2 separate regions of the Homo sapiens genome follow, and region 2 is linked to region 1. Evidence: promoter capture Hi-C in human tissues and cell types (Jung and others, 2019). All regions are on one chromosome and are shown on one strand. The core of a region is centred on a gene start or on the middle of the fragment in contact, and the rest is flanking DNA. Distances in the headings are between cores, read along the strand shown.

Region 1 (5,286 bases), core at 666-3,165:
AGGCAGAGGTTGCCGTGAACCAAGATGGCGCCATTGCACTTCAGCCTGAGTGACAAGAGTGAAACTCTCAAAAAAAAAAAAAAAAAAAAAAATCATGGGTGGGGGTTTGTCTGCTGCTCCAAGGGACTCTAGGACACCGTAAGGGTGTTTTCACCTCTTGTGAAAGAACAGTTTCTCTTTTATGTAATGTTTGTTGCAATACCGGGTGGGAGGGGGTGGCACTGGGAATGTTTTGTTATAGTTGAGACTGTTACAAAAGAGCTTTTCCCCAGTAGCACCCCATAAAACCTCTTACTGCTCGGTTACCAGGGTGTGCTGGGTGTCTTTTGGGGAGGAGGAACCACACAAAGGGAAAGGATGGGAATTGGGGGGAAATTAAATTAAAAATGACTGTAGTTGAGACACATTGACACTAACAGGCTGCATTTCCGGGGTCTGGCCGTGTTTGCACCAACTGTCTGGGGTGTGGGGCGAGGCGTGCACAGGATTAAAGGAGATGGTGTCCTAGGGCTCTGGGCTGCAGCCTGGGGAGGTACACACAGGTCAGCCTTTGCCTCCCCAGGGTAAGTTTCCGGTGAAGAACATTCTTTACAAGTAAGAGGATCCTCTGAGCCTACTGGCCGAGGGGCCCAGCTTGGGGCTGAGGCTGGCCTGGGGCTGAGGCTGGCCTCTACTTACCGGCTAGGTCTTGAGCAAACGAACTGGCTTCCCTGGGCCTCCTTTTCCCTGTCCTTAAAATGGTGCAGGTGAGGACAATAGGAGCCCCAAGGGGTGCTGTGAGGGTGGCCAGTACGTGCCCTGCTAAGGGCTCCATAAAGCCTAATTTGTGGTCATGAGAGGGGGTGCAGCAGGACAGGGTGGGGGCAGCTCTTGAAAGCCCCATAAACTAAGAGAATAGAAAGGAAGGCACCCTGTCTCCACAGTGGAGGCCACCCCTTTGGCCAGAGGGAGGGTTGGCTGCTGCCCGGCCAAGGAGGGGCAGAGAGAATCTGGCAGAATTCACTGAGCCCTCGTGCTGGCAGCCCTGGAATGGGACCCTCCTGGGCCGTCCCTGGCCTGATGAACTGGCCCTGAGGCTACCTACCCCACAGCTTGGCTCGGATCCCGGCCACCCAGCTTCCAAGAAAGCCTGGAACCAGGAAAGGAGCGCCGCTGGCGTGGAAAGACACACTTGCATCCTAAAACACTTGGCCTCTGGTTGTGTTTCAGGAACTGGGAGGTGAGACCCTTTCTGGTGACTGACAGTTTTGTGCCTCTGGGCGCAGAGCCCTGTGGCTGGCCCTGGTATCCCCCCCTCCCCCCTCTCCCCGCTCTCCCTGGCCAATGCCAGCAACAACCCAGAGGGTAGCCCCACCACTTGCCAGGTTCAACGCAGTGTCCCCCGCAGCAGCCACGTGAGGTTCCTCGGATGGGGAGCTGTCCCTCCCCCCTGCCCCGCCCCTGGCCCCAGCCACACAGCGCCCACCCTCCTTGTTTAAGGGCCAGGAGGCCAGACTGCTGGGGCAAAGCTGTCACAGCAGCGAGGGAGAGAGCGCTGTCCCCCTCCCCTTCAAAAGCCACCTTGGCAAGGCATTAGCTAAACATCTTCTCGGTCCCAGAAGGCTTCCCCTGTGAAGTCTGCAGCGTTCAAACGACAACCAGCAAATCCCCAGAGACAGGTCCCTGGGAATTAGCTGCGCCGGGCGGGATGAAAGCCGCTCTGATGTTCTGGAGCGAGAGAGTAGAGAGAAGGAGGAAGACAGACACTACCTGCCAGTCGCAGGGTCCCGGGCAGCAGCAGCACGCCAAGGAGGAGCCAGGGGGCTGCGGGGAGCCCAGGAGGGCGTGGGAGGCCTGGCAGGGCCCGCCACCTCACAGGCTGGTTCTCCATCTGGGGGCCTGCTTGTCTGCGGCGACTCTTTAGTTCACAGGAGGGGACGGCCGGCGCTGACAGCTTCCCCTTTGCTTTCCCCACGAAGCTCCTCCCTGGCAGCCCCTGACCTTCCGCTCAGAAGCAAAGCTGGAACAGCCCAGCAGGGTGGCCGCCAGATGAGGAACCTGGCACTGAGACTGGTCCAGGCCACACAACCAGAAGAAGAGCTGGAGACGGGACCCAAGCCTCCCCACTCCAACCCCTGGTGGGCTTCACCCTGTCTCGGCCCCTTTCCAGCAGGGGCCCCGTCCAGGAGACACTGGTAACTGTGCAGAGGGATCATGGGATTTCCATGAGTGACTTCGGGCCTTGGTTTAGCCTCTCACTTCTGAAACACTTTTAAAACGACCACAAGCATGTTCACACAAACTTCTCTAAAATATTCTGAGAATCCCTTAATAATGTGTTTACCAAAGGTAGGTTTTTTGGTGAGGGGTGGTAGGGAGGCTGGGGTGAAGGGCAGGAGCCTCATGTTCCCAGCCCTAGAGAGGGCCAAACACCCAGGGCAGGTGAAAGGCAGGCTGCCCATCATTCACCCAGCGAGAACCTCTGTGGGTCCCCTGCAGAGGCCCAGGAGACGCCTCCTCTCTGGTCCATCTCTAACGTCAGCTCCTCCCTGTGGCTGCCCTAAAGCTTAGCTCACTCGGCCTCCCAACTGTGAGACCCTCGAACTGCTTCCCCATTGGCTGCAGGTCACAGCCCCTGCTCTCACTTCTAGCAGCATCAGCCGGGGACAGGAATTGTTTGCTGCCGGGACCCCCTTCCCCAGCAGACTGGGAGCCCCTCACCCTTGGCACCCACACATCTGCCTGCGTGTCTGGAGTGGCAGAGGAAAGGGGCTGGGGTGTGGTGATGGCTGGTGGAGCTGGAGGCACCTGGTACATGGAAGACGCAGGCGGGAAGGTGGCTGAGTTTCAGCGCATGCTGAGCGCTTACCTCCCTTCTCTGCAGGTGTCCCTTCACTCACCAGATAAATGTGATGATCCCAGTTGTACAAAAGAGAAGACCTCGGCCCCAGGAGGCAAAACAACATGCCTAGGATCAGGGCAGGTCTGTGGGGCGGGCATTTGAACTGCCAGTGGTATGATGTCCGAGCCTTCTCCCACCCTGCTACTGCCTGCTCAGGTGTGTCCAGCTGCAGCCCCCGGTGACGGCATCATGAGATCCATTTCAGTTCTTTGCACACATGCTTTTCCCTGGGCTGCTCCAAACATGAACAGTGAAAGCCTAAAGACGTTTCCACCAATGCCACGAGCACTGGGAGGCTGGCAAGAGCAGGGGCCGCCCACCAGGGGAGGAAGACATATGAACAGGAGAAGTTTCCTACCGCGCAGGGGGCAGGCGGGGACCCCAGTGTTATTGACTGTTGATCCATCACAGTGATACATGCTCACATATGTCACAGTGAGATGCAGACCCGCTGCTTCACGCTATTCCTGGCTCCTGGGAGTAGCAGGTTGTCTAAGCACCTTGATGCCATGGTGATAGACCTCGTGTCAATGCCTCAGGGTACACGGGGAGCATTGGAAAAGCATCGGTCTGTGCCTCTACAAGTCTCATTACGACTTGGCACTGGGAGGCAGCTGAATGCCAAACTGCCTCGGAACAAGGGAGCCTGCTCTTCCAGCCCTGGTGCCGCCTCCGCTCCTGCCCCTGTGCCAGCTCACTGACCCTACCTCTCAGCCTGTCACGGTGCCCCCCACACCCCAACTCTGTACCTCGGACTCCCGGGAGTTCTGCCGCCTCTGAGTCTGGGTCTAGCCTGCTGCACACCTGGTTTCCACGCTTGCCTGCCTGAGCTGCCTGTCTTCCTCCCCTCTCCTTCTTGAGCCTGGCCCAGGGGGTGCAGGAATGGACGGATGGGTGAGCATAAGGCAGGGAGAAGCCTTCCTCCAGGCTTGATATGAAGGCAGGTGCCCAACACCACGCTGGTGCACAAGAGGCCTCAAGGGAAGGGGTAGCCTCTGGGAGGCAGGGTGGGAGGAGGCGTGCATACTCCCCAGGCAGGCCCTGGGCTGTGGAGCGCAGACATGACTGGACAAGAAGCAGCTGAGGGTCCCAGCTCATTGCCCAGTTTCTGAGACGCTCTGCAGCCACGCAGCCTCCTGGGGAGAGGCAGGGACGCACCTTGGCAAGGAGCCCAGCAGCCCTGGCTGCGCTGTCGGGGCCTCGTGTCTGGCCCTGATCCTCCTCGGGAGCCAGGGGGATAGAAATAAAACCGCAGCGCATCCAGGAGCCTCATTTCTACCAAAACTTTCTAGCACCTCTCATGTGCTTCCTCTCCTGTGCCCTCAGCCAGAGCTGTGAATAAACAGTAAAGGCCCCAAAGGCTGAAGGCGGAGCAGAGGAATGAGGAGGCTCTGTGGGTGTCCCAGGGGCAGCTTCAGTGGCACAGCCTTCGAGCTAGGCCTTGGCAGCTGAATTTGCAGGTGAGGTCCCTGGGGACCACACGTCTCAGCCACTGGCTTTTGCCCAGACCTCCGTCCATTCCCCGTTTATCCGTGCATCTATGCCTCACAGTATACTGAACACCTGCCCTGCCCTGGGCCCTGGCCTCACGGAGGCTGTAGAAGTGAAAGAGCCTAGCCTCCCTGGGAAGCCTAGGGGCACGGCAACCTCAGCAGAGTGAAGCAATAATAGAGCAGTTCCGGGAAGCTTCCAAGCGCCTGACACTGCTCCAGGGGACCTGCTCTCCTTGCCAGTTTAATCCTCACTGCAGCCCTATGGGGCAGGCACTCTAATCACCTCCATTGTACAGATGAGGAAACTGAGGAACAGGGAGGTTAAAGTAATTTCTGAGTGGCAGCCCTGAAGGAGGTGGAAGCTGGGTGGGGAAATGGGGGAGCCCAGGTGTCCCCTGCAGTCCCCAGGGGCCTCCTCGACACCAAGACTAAGGCTTTCCAAATGAGACCACAATTACTGGCCTCTGTTTTCTTTTTCTTTTCTTTCTTTTTTTTTTTTTTTTGAGACAGAATTTTTCTCTTGTTGCCCAGGCTGGAGTGCAATGGCGCGATCTCGGCTCACCGTAAACTCTGCCTCCCGGGTTCAAGTGATTCTCCTGCCTCAGCCTCCCGAGTAGCTGGGATTACAGGCATGTGCCACCACGCCCGGCTAATTTTGTATTTTTAGTAGAGATGGCATTTCTTCATGTTGGTCAGGCTGGTCTCGAACTCCCAACCTCAGGTGATCCGCCCACCTCAGCCTCCCAAAGTGCTGCGATTATAGGTGTGAGCCACTTTGCCCAGCTGGTCTCTGTTTTCAGTTTAGTTCCACAAACACTTATTATGTGCCTACTGCGTGCCAGGCATTGGGCAGACAAAACATAAGTCATGGTTTTGCCCTCAAGGCGCTCCCTGTCCAGGGAGAAAAACAGA
Region 2 (5,438 bases), core at 173-2,672, 590 kb before region 1:
TAGCAGAATCCCAGAGCCTGTGCCTTAAGGTAAGGCTCCCTGGGGAACTTTGTTTAGAAATGAATCCTAAACTATCGAAGGGCTTGCAAACTAGAAAATTTCTGCATATCTCAGGCCTTGAGAATTGCTAATGGATATGTATCTAAATGTCCCTTACAAGCTTGCTCCTCCACGTGGCCCTGTGGAACAGGTCTGTTGGGTTCAGGATCTAGTTTGGAACAGTGATGAAATTTCGAGCTGCTGAACCAGATATGGAACTGCTTTGCTAACCTGGTGTCTGCCCAGCTTAAGCCCCCTCCATCCCACAGCTGTGAAAGGAAATCATGCTTCTTCCCAAGTGCTAACATTCCTGTGAGGCCTTACACTTTACCCAAGTCCTCCTGATACATTTGTCTTCCTAATAAGTGCTATAAAATTGAGGCTTGATTTCCACCCCCACCCCCCACCCCCACAAGAGTCCTGCTCTGTCGCCCAGGCTAGGGTGCAGTGGCACGATCTCTGCTCACTGCGACCTCTGCCTCCTGGGTTCAAGCAATTCTCCTGTCTCCTGTAATCCCGAGTAGCTGGGATTACAGGTGTGTGCCACTATGCCAGGCTAATTTTTGTATTTTTAGTAAAGATGAGGTTTCAACATGTTGGCCATGCTGGTCTTGAACTCCTTACCTCGTGATCCACCTGCCTTGGCCTCCCAAAGTGCTGCGATTACAGGTGTGAGCCACTGCGCCTGCCCATGGCTTGATTTTTATGCCCATTTTCCATGGACATAGATGAAGGCACTGAGACAGAGAAATTAGATGATTTGCCAATGCTTCCTATGCTGATGACGGGGAATGAACTTGGATTTTCTGATGTGGGATTCCATATTCTTCGCTGTCCTATGAAAATGAGGTGGGAGATGCCTTGATTCAGGAAGCCTGTCTGTCTAGGAGCCCCTTCTCTGGTCAAAAGTTGTTTTTAAAAAATCCTTGCTGCATTTCAACGTGAATGAGTATCCACTGTATTCATAGCACAGTGCTAGAAGCTGTTAGAGTTGAATGAAATGGCCTCTGCTTTCAGGGAGCTAACATGTAAACATCCAGTCATAATACATGGGAAAATACAACAGAGGCTATAACAGAGGAACAACTCTAAATCTTTGGAGGACTGAGGAAGGGAATTAGAAAAATCTTCACAAGGACTTTGGCATTTGGGCTGAATTGTGAAGGGTGAGTAAATAGGATTTTAGAAGGTAAAGGAGCAGGCATGGTGTTTATTTAGATAGATTTAGACAAAGTTGGGAATAATTTGGCATGCTCTAGGAATATGTGTGTCAGAGTACTGCATAGGACAGAGGTTCTCAAACTTGAATGTGTCTATGAACTCCCAGGGTATACCCCCAAAGATCTGAATGTGGAAGGTCTGGGATGTTGTCCAACAGGAACACCTAACTAGTGGAGGGGGCAGGATCAGAGGAGCCTTCTCAGGGATAAGCTGAGGTCTTAAAGGGGTGGAAGGAGAGAGCAGCTGTGTTCCAGGCTGAGTGAACAGCCATTTTGAAGGGCTTGACCAGTGCTGGTGCTCGAGTGTCTGGGTTTTGTGTAGACCACACTCTTGATAACTGTGCTGTTCGTTATCTTCCACAAACAGGGTTTTGGTCAGGTGCCTCCTTGCTTCAGTGTGTTCTTTATCAGTCAGGATTCTTGGTGATAAGCAGCAGAAACCGCTTCTATCTAGCTTGAACAGAAAAGGATTTGTTAGAAGGGTGGTTCTTGGAGTGACTAGAAAAGCTGGAGAGCCAATTTGGAAAATGGGCCAGAACCAAGGAGGCTCCTGCTTAGTACTCCTCCGCCTTCATGATCTGTATATTGTCTCTGCTTTCCTGGGTCATTCCCTCAAGGGTCGCACTCCTGGTGGGAGGATGCATTAATCAGAGCTGACTGGCAGGAAACCTTCCCTCACATGAGGACTGCCCAATGGGGATTCTCCAAAGGAAGATCAGGGTGCTAATGGGAGGGTCGGGTCTGATGATGGACAAATGGAACAAAAGTGGCAAATGCCCACCATGTATTCTGTGCCTTTCCTTGCCTCTGAAATAAAAGCAGTTTCTGCCGCCAAATATACATGGTAGCATTAAGTCAGGCCTTTCACAGGCAGCTCCATCTCTCCATTTTGCACCGTGCTGTCTCTACTTCAGCAGCTGGCAGGACATTTCCTGATACTGTGGTTTTGCTCAAACTATTTCCTTTGCCTGGAATACCCTTCCCTCTCTCTAATTTATAAACCCTTTTCATCCGTTAAGCTCGGTTTTCACTGCCTGCCAGGATGGATCAGTCCTTTCTCTGCTCTCTGACAGCCCTTTCTTTGTGAGGCACTTGTCTGTTCTTGCCCTTGTCGCAGTTTATGGAGTTGGTTAGGTTTCTCTTTCTTCTCTGTGAGCATGGGAGATGGGAAGAAAACGAATACTTTTCAGTCTTTGCCCTGTGCGGAGTTCCACACAAGGCACATAGGATCCTCCAGCTCCCAGCCCAGAGTACATAGTGTATGCAAATTTGAGTGGATGTTTGTATTTGTAGCGTGATTTGATAACCTGCTTTGCAAGTATTCTTTTTCTCTTTAGTTTTAGGGAGATTTGGGGGCATGGTAATGGATGGAAGGGTAAGATGGTGGGATGTTGGGGTCTTTCATTTTTGCCTGAATGGTTTAAGGGCTGAAAAAGGTTGAGATCTCTTGCTTTGTAGACTCTGCCCCCAGGAGGAGGACAGTTCAGGTGAAGTGGCTTGTGCCTGATTTTGTTGGCAGTGGGTCACCTGAAATGTGAAATGTGAGGGCCTCCTTTTGCAGAACAGGGTCATGCAGGATCAGTTCCTTGGAGTCTCACTCTGCATCTCACTCAATTTTGTAGTCTCCTGCTAAAAGAGAGTGAAAGAGGGAACAGTATGATGCCAGGGCAGCAGCAGGTGAAGAGCTGGGAGATACAGGAAAGACCTGGGATGACACATCCTTCTCTGTCTGAGCTTGGGGCATTCACTCTACTCATTCGTGAATGAAGCACTTACTGAGCACCTGTCCAGTGTCAGGCTGTCTTTGGTGATATCCGTATGATGATAGAACCAAAGCATCTGCATTATGTGGTAGCTAAGAGCTTGACTTTAAATCCCAGCTCCACCACCTGCTGACTGGGTGACATTAGACAAGTTACTTAGCCTCTGAGTGCCTCATTTTCCTTACCTGTAAAGTGGAGATGATAATGGCATCTACCTCAAAGTGTCATTGAGATTAAACGAAATTTGTGTAAAGTGTTTAATTGCTGATACATAGTAAGAGCTCAGCAAATGTTAATTCCTGTACTTTTTAAAAATTATTACTACTAATTTGCTCAGTTTTTCTTCTTGATTGTTGTTCTCAAAGTCTGTTTCTTTTATTTATTTTCATTATTATTATTATTTTTTTTTTTTTGAGACGGAGTCTCGCTCTGTCGCCCAGGCTGGAGTGCAGTGGCGCAAACTCGGCTCAGTGCAAGCTCCGCCTCCCGGGTTCATGGCATTCTCCTGCCTCAGCTTCCCGAGTAGCTGGGACTACAGGCGCCCGCCACCACGCCCAGCTAATTTTTTTTTGTATTTTTATTTATTTATTATTATTATACTTTGAGTTTTAGGGTACATGTGCACAATGTGCAGGTTAGTTACATATGTATACATGTGCAGTGCTGGTGCGCTGTACCCACTAACTCGTCATCTAGCATTAGGTATATCTCCCAATGCTATCCCTCCCTCCTCCCCCTGTATTTTTTTAGTAGAGACGGAGTTTCACCGTGTTAGCCAGGATGATCTCAATCTCCTGACCTCATGATCCGCCCACCGTGGCCTCCCAAAGTGCTGGGATTACAGGCGTGAGCCACCGCGCCTGGCCTTCAAAGTCTGTTTTTAATAGAGCAGTCATTTAAAAATAATAAGTGGGATAAGAGAGACAGCCTTTCAAACATGGGATGACAAGAATCTGATGTCTGTGTTTTAGCATTAGGCAAGGATTGGAGTCCCTGGCTGCAGCAAGGGTGGGGCTCTTGCATGGGTCGGGACTCTGGTTGATTGCAGCATCGTAGAGCCTAACTGCTGGGAGGTGGGGCAACCCCAGCGAGAAACTCCTAGGAGGAAGCACCTCCCTGTGGTGGTTGGGGCAACTTGTGGAGCAGGGTGCTTGAGAAAAGAGCACAGGGCTTAGAGGAAGGAGTAAGGCTCCTATCTCTGTCTGCTACTCGCTCCCCACCTGCCTGAGATGGTGTGCAGGTCACCCCCTCTTTGGACTTGGACTTTTCTTCCTGTGTAAAAACCACCACCAAGACCGCTTTTCAAGCACTTACTGCCAGGCACTCACTATCCCAGGTGATTTACATATATTAACTCACTTAAAACAGTGCTTGAAATGGCTACCTCACAGGGTGATTTTGAAGATTATATAACACAGTGTGTGAAAGTAGAAGTGTTAAAAGGAAAAATAAGGGAGCCACAGTGTTAATGAAGTTATTTTCCAGTAAAAAAAATCATGTTTAAACTTTGTATATGAATATATACATACGTATATATACACTGAAGTAAATAGTACTGAAAACAGCAACAACAGCTTTTTAAGCAACATTCCAGCAGGTTCCTCTTGTACCATGTATCCCTTTTTATCCTAACACTTTGCATGCAGTCCTGGCAGATTTATTATTTATTTATTTATTTATTTATTTTTTGGAGATGGGGTCTCACTGTGTTGCCCAGGCTGGAGTGCAATGGCGCGATCTCAGCTACTGCAAACTCTGCCTTCCAGATTCAAGCGATTCTCCTGCCTCAGCCTCCCAAGTAGCTGGGATTACAGGTGCTTGCCGCCACGCCCGGCTAACTTTTGTATTTTTAGAGAAATGGGGTTTCACCATGTTACCAGGCCAGGCTGGTCTTGAACTCCTGACTTCAGGTGATCCTCCCGCCTTAGCCTCCCAAAGTGCTGGGATTACAGGTGTGAGCCACCGCACCCGCCCCAACAGATGTTTTTACAGAGGTTTTCTACCATAACATGTGCCTCTTGAAGGCATTTATTTTTGTATCTGGCACATAGTAGGATCTCAGTTAATGTTTCTTGAATGCGTGTCTTAAGGGATGTATCTTTTATTAAAATGTATACTTAAAAAGAGAGAGATTGTTCTAGAAAACAGCATCTTGTCAAGGCATATGGTCTCATTTGAAGAATAATTTAATAATTTGGATAGGAAGGTATACTTGTAAAATACAGCCAGTCAAAAATACCTTTTCCCCATTCCCCTTGATGCGTCCATTACATACATGTTCACCCTGAGATTGATCTTCCATCAGCATTGAAATGAACATTGAAAGTAATAAGATGGGCCGGGCTTGGTGACTCACGCCTGTAATCCCAGCACTTTGGGAGGCGGAGGTGGGTGGATCACGAGGTCAGGAGATCGA

Evidence for each region. The method cuts DNA at HindIII sites, captures the fragments that hold promoters and counts their contacts. A contact is called where the count stands out against the background at its distance.
Region 2: a fragment that was not itself captured here is called in contact with the fragment with the promoter of NFAM1 in region 1 in 1 of the 25 tissues and cell types used here (bladder).

Annotation. Positions count from the first base shown.
Region 1 is chr22:42,430,488-42,435,773 of GRCh38, forward strand. NFAM1 (NFAT activating protein with ITAM motif 1) reads right to left here and starts at 1,916. Exons shown (of 6, transcript NM_145912.8): 1 at 1,750-1,916. The coding sequence starts at 1,870. The HindIII fragment of the contact is 19,415 bases long and covers 1-3,556 here.
Region 2 is chr22:41,844,499-41,849,936 of GRCh38, forward strand. The region is part of intron 1 of SREBF2 (sterol regulatory element binding transcription factor 2); the gene reads left to right. Among named protein-coding and RNA genes, the nearest start is that of SREBF2-AS1, 13 kb to the left of the region's middle. RefSeq lists an enhancer at 1,966-2,766. The HindIII fragment of the contact is 6,451 bases long and covers 1-4,648 here.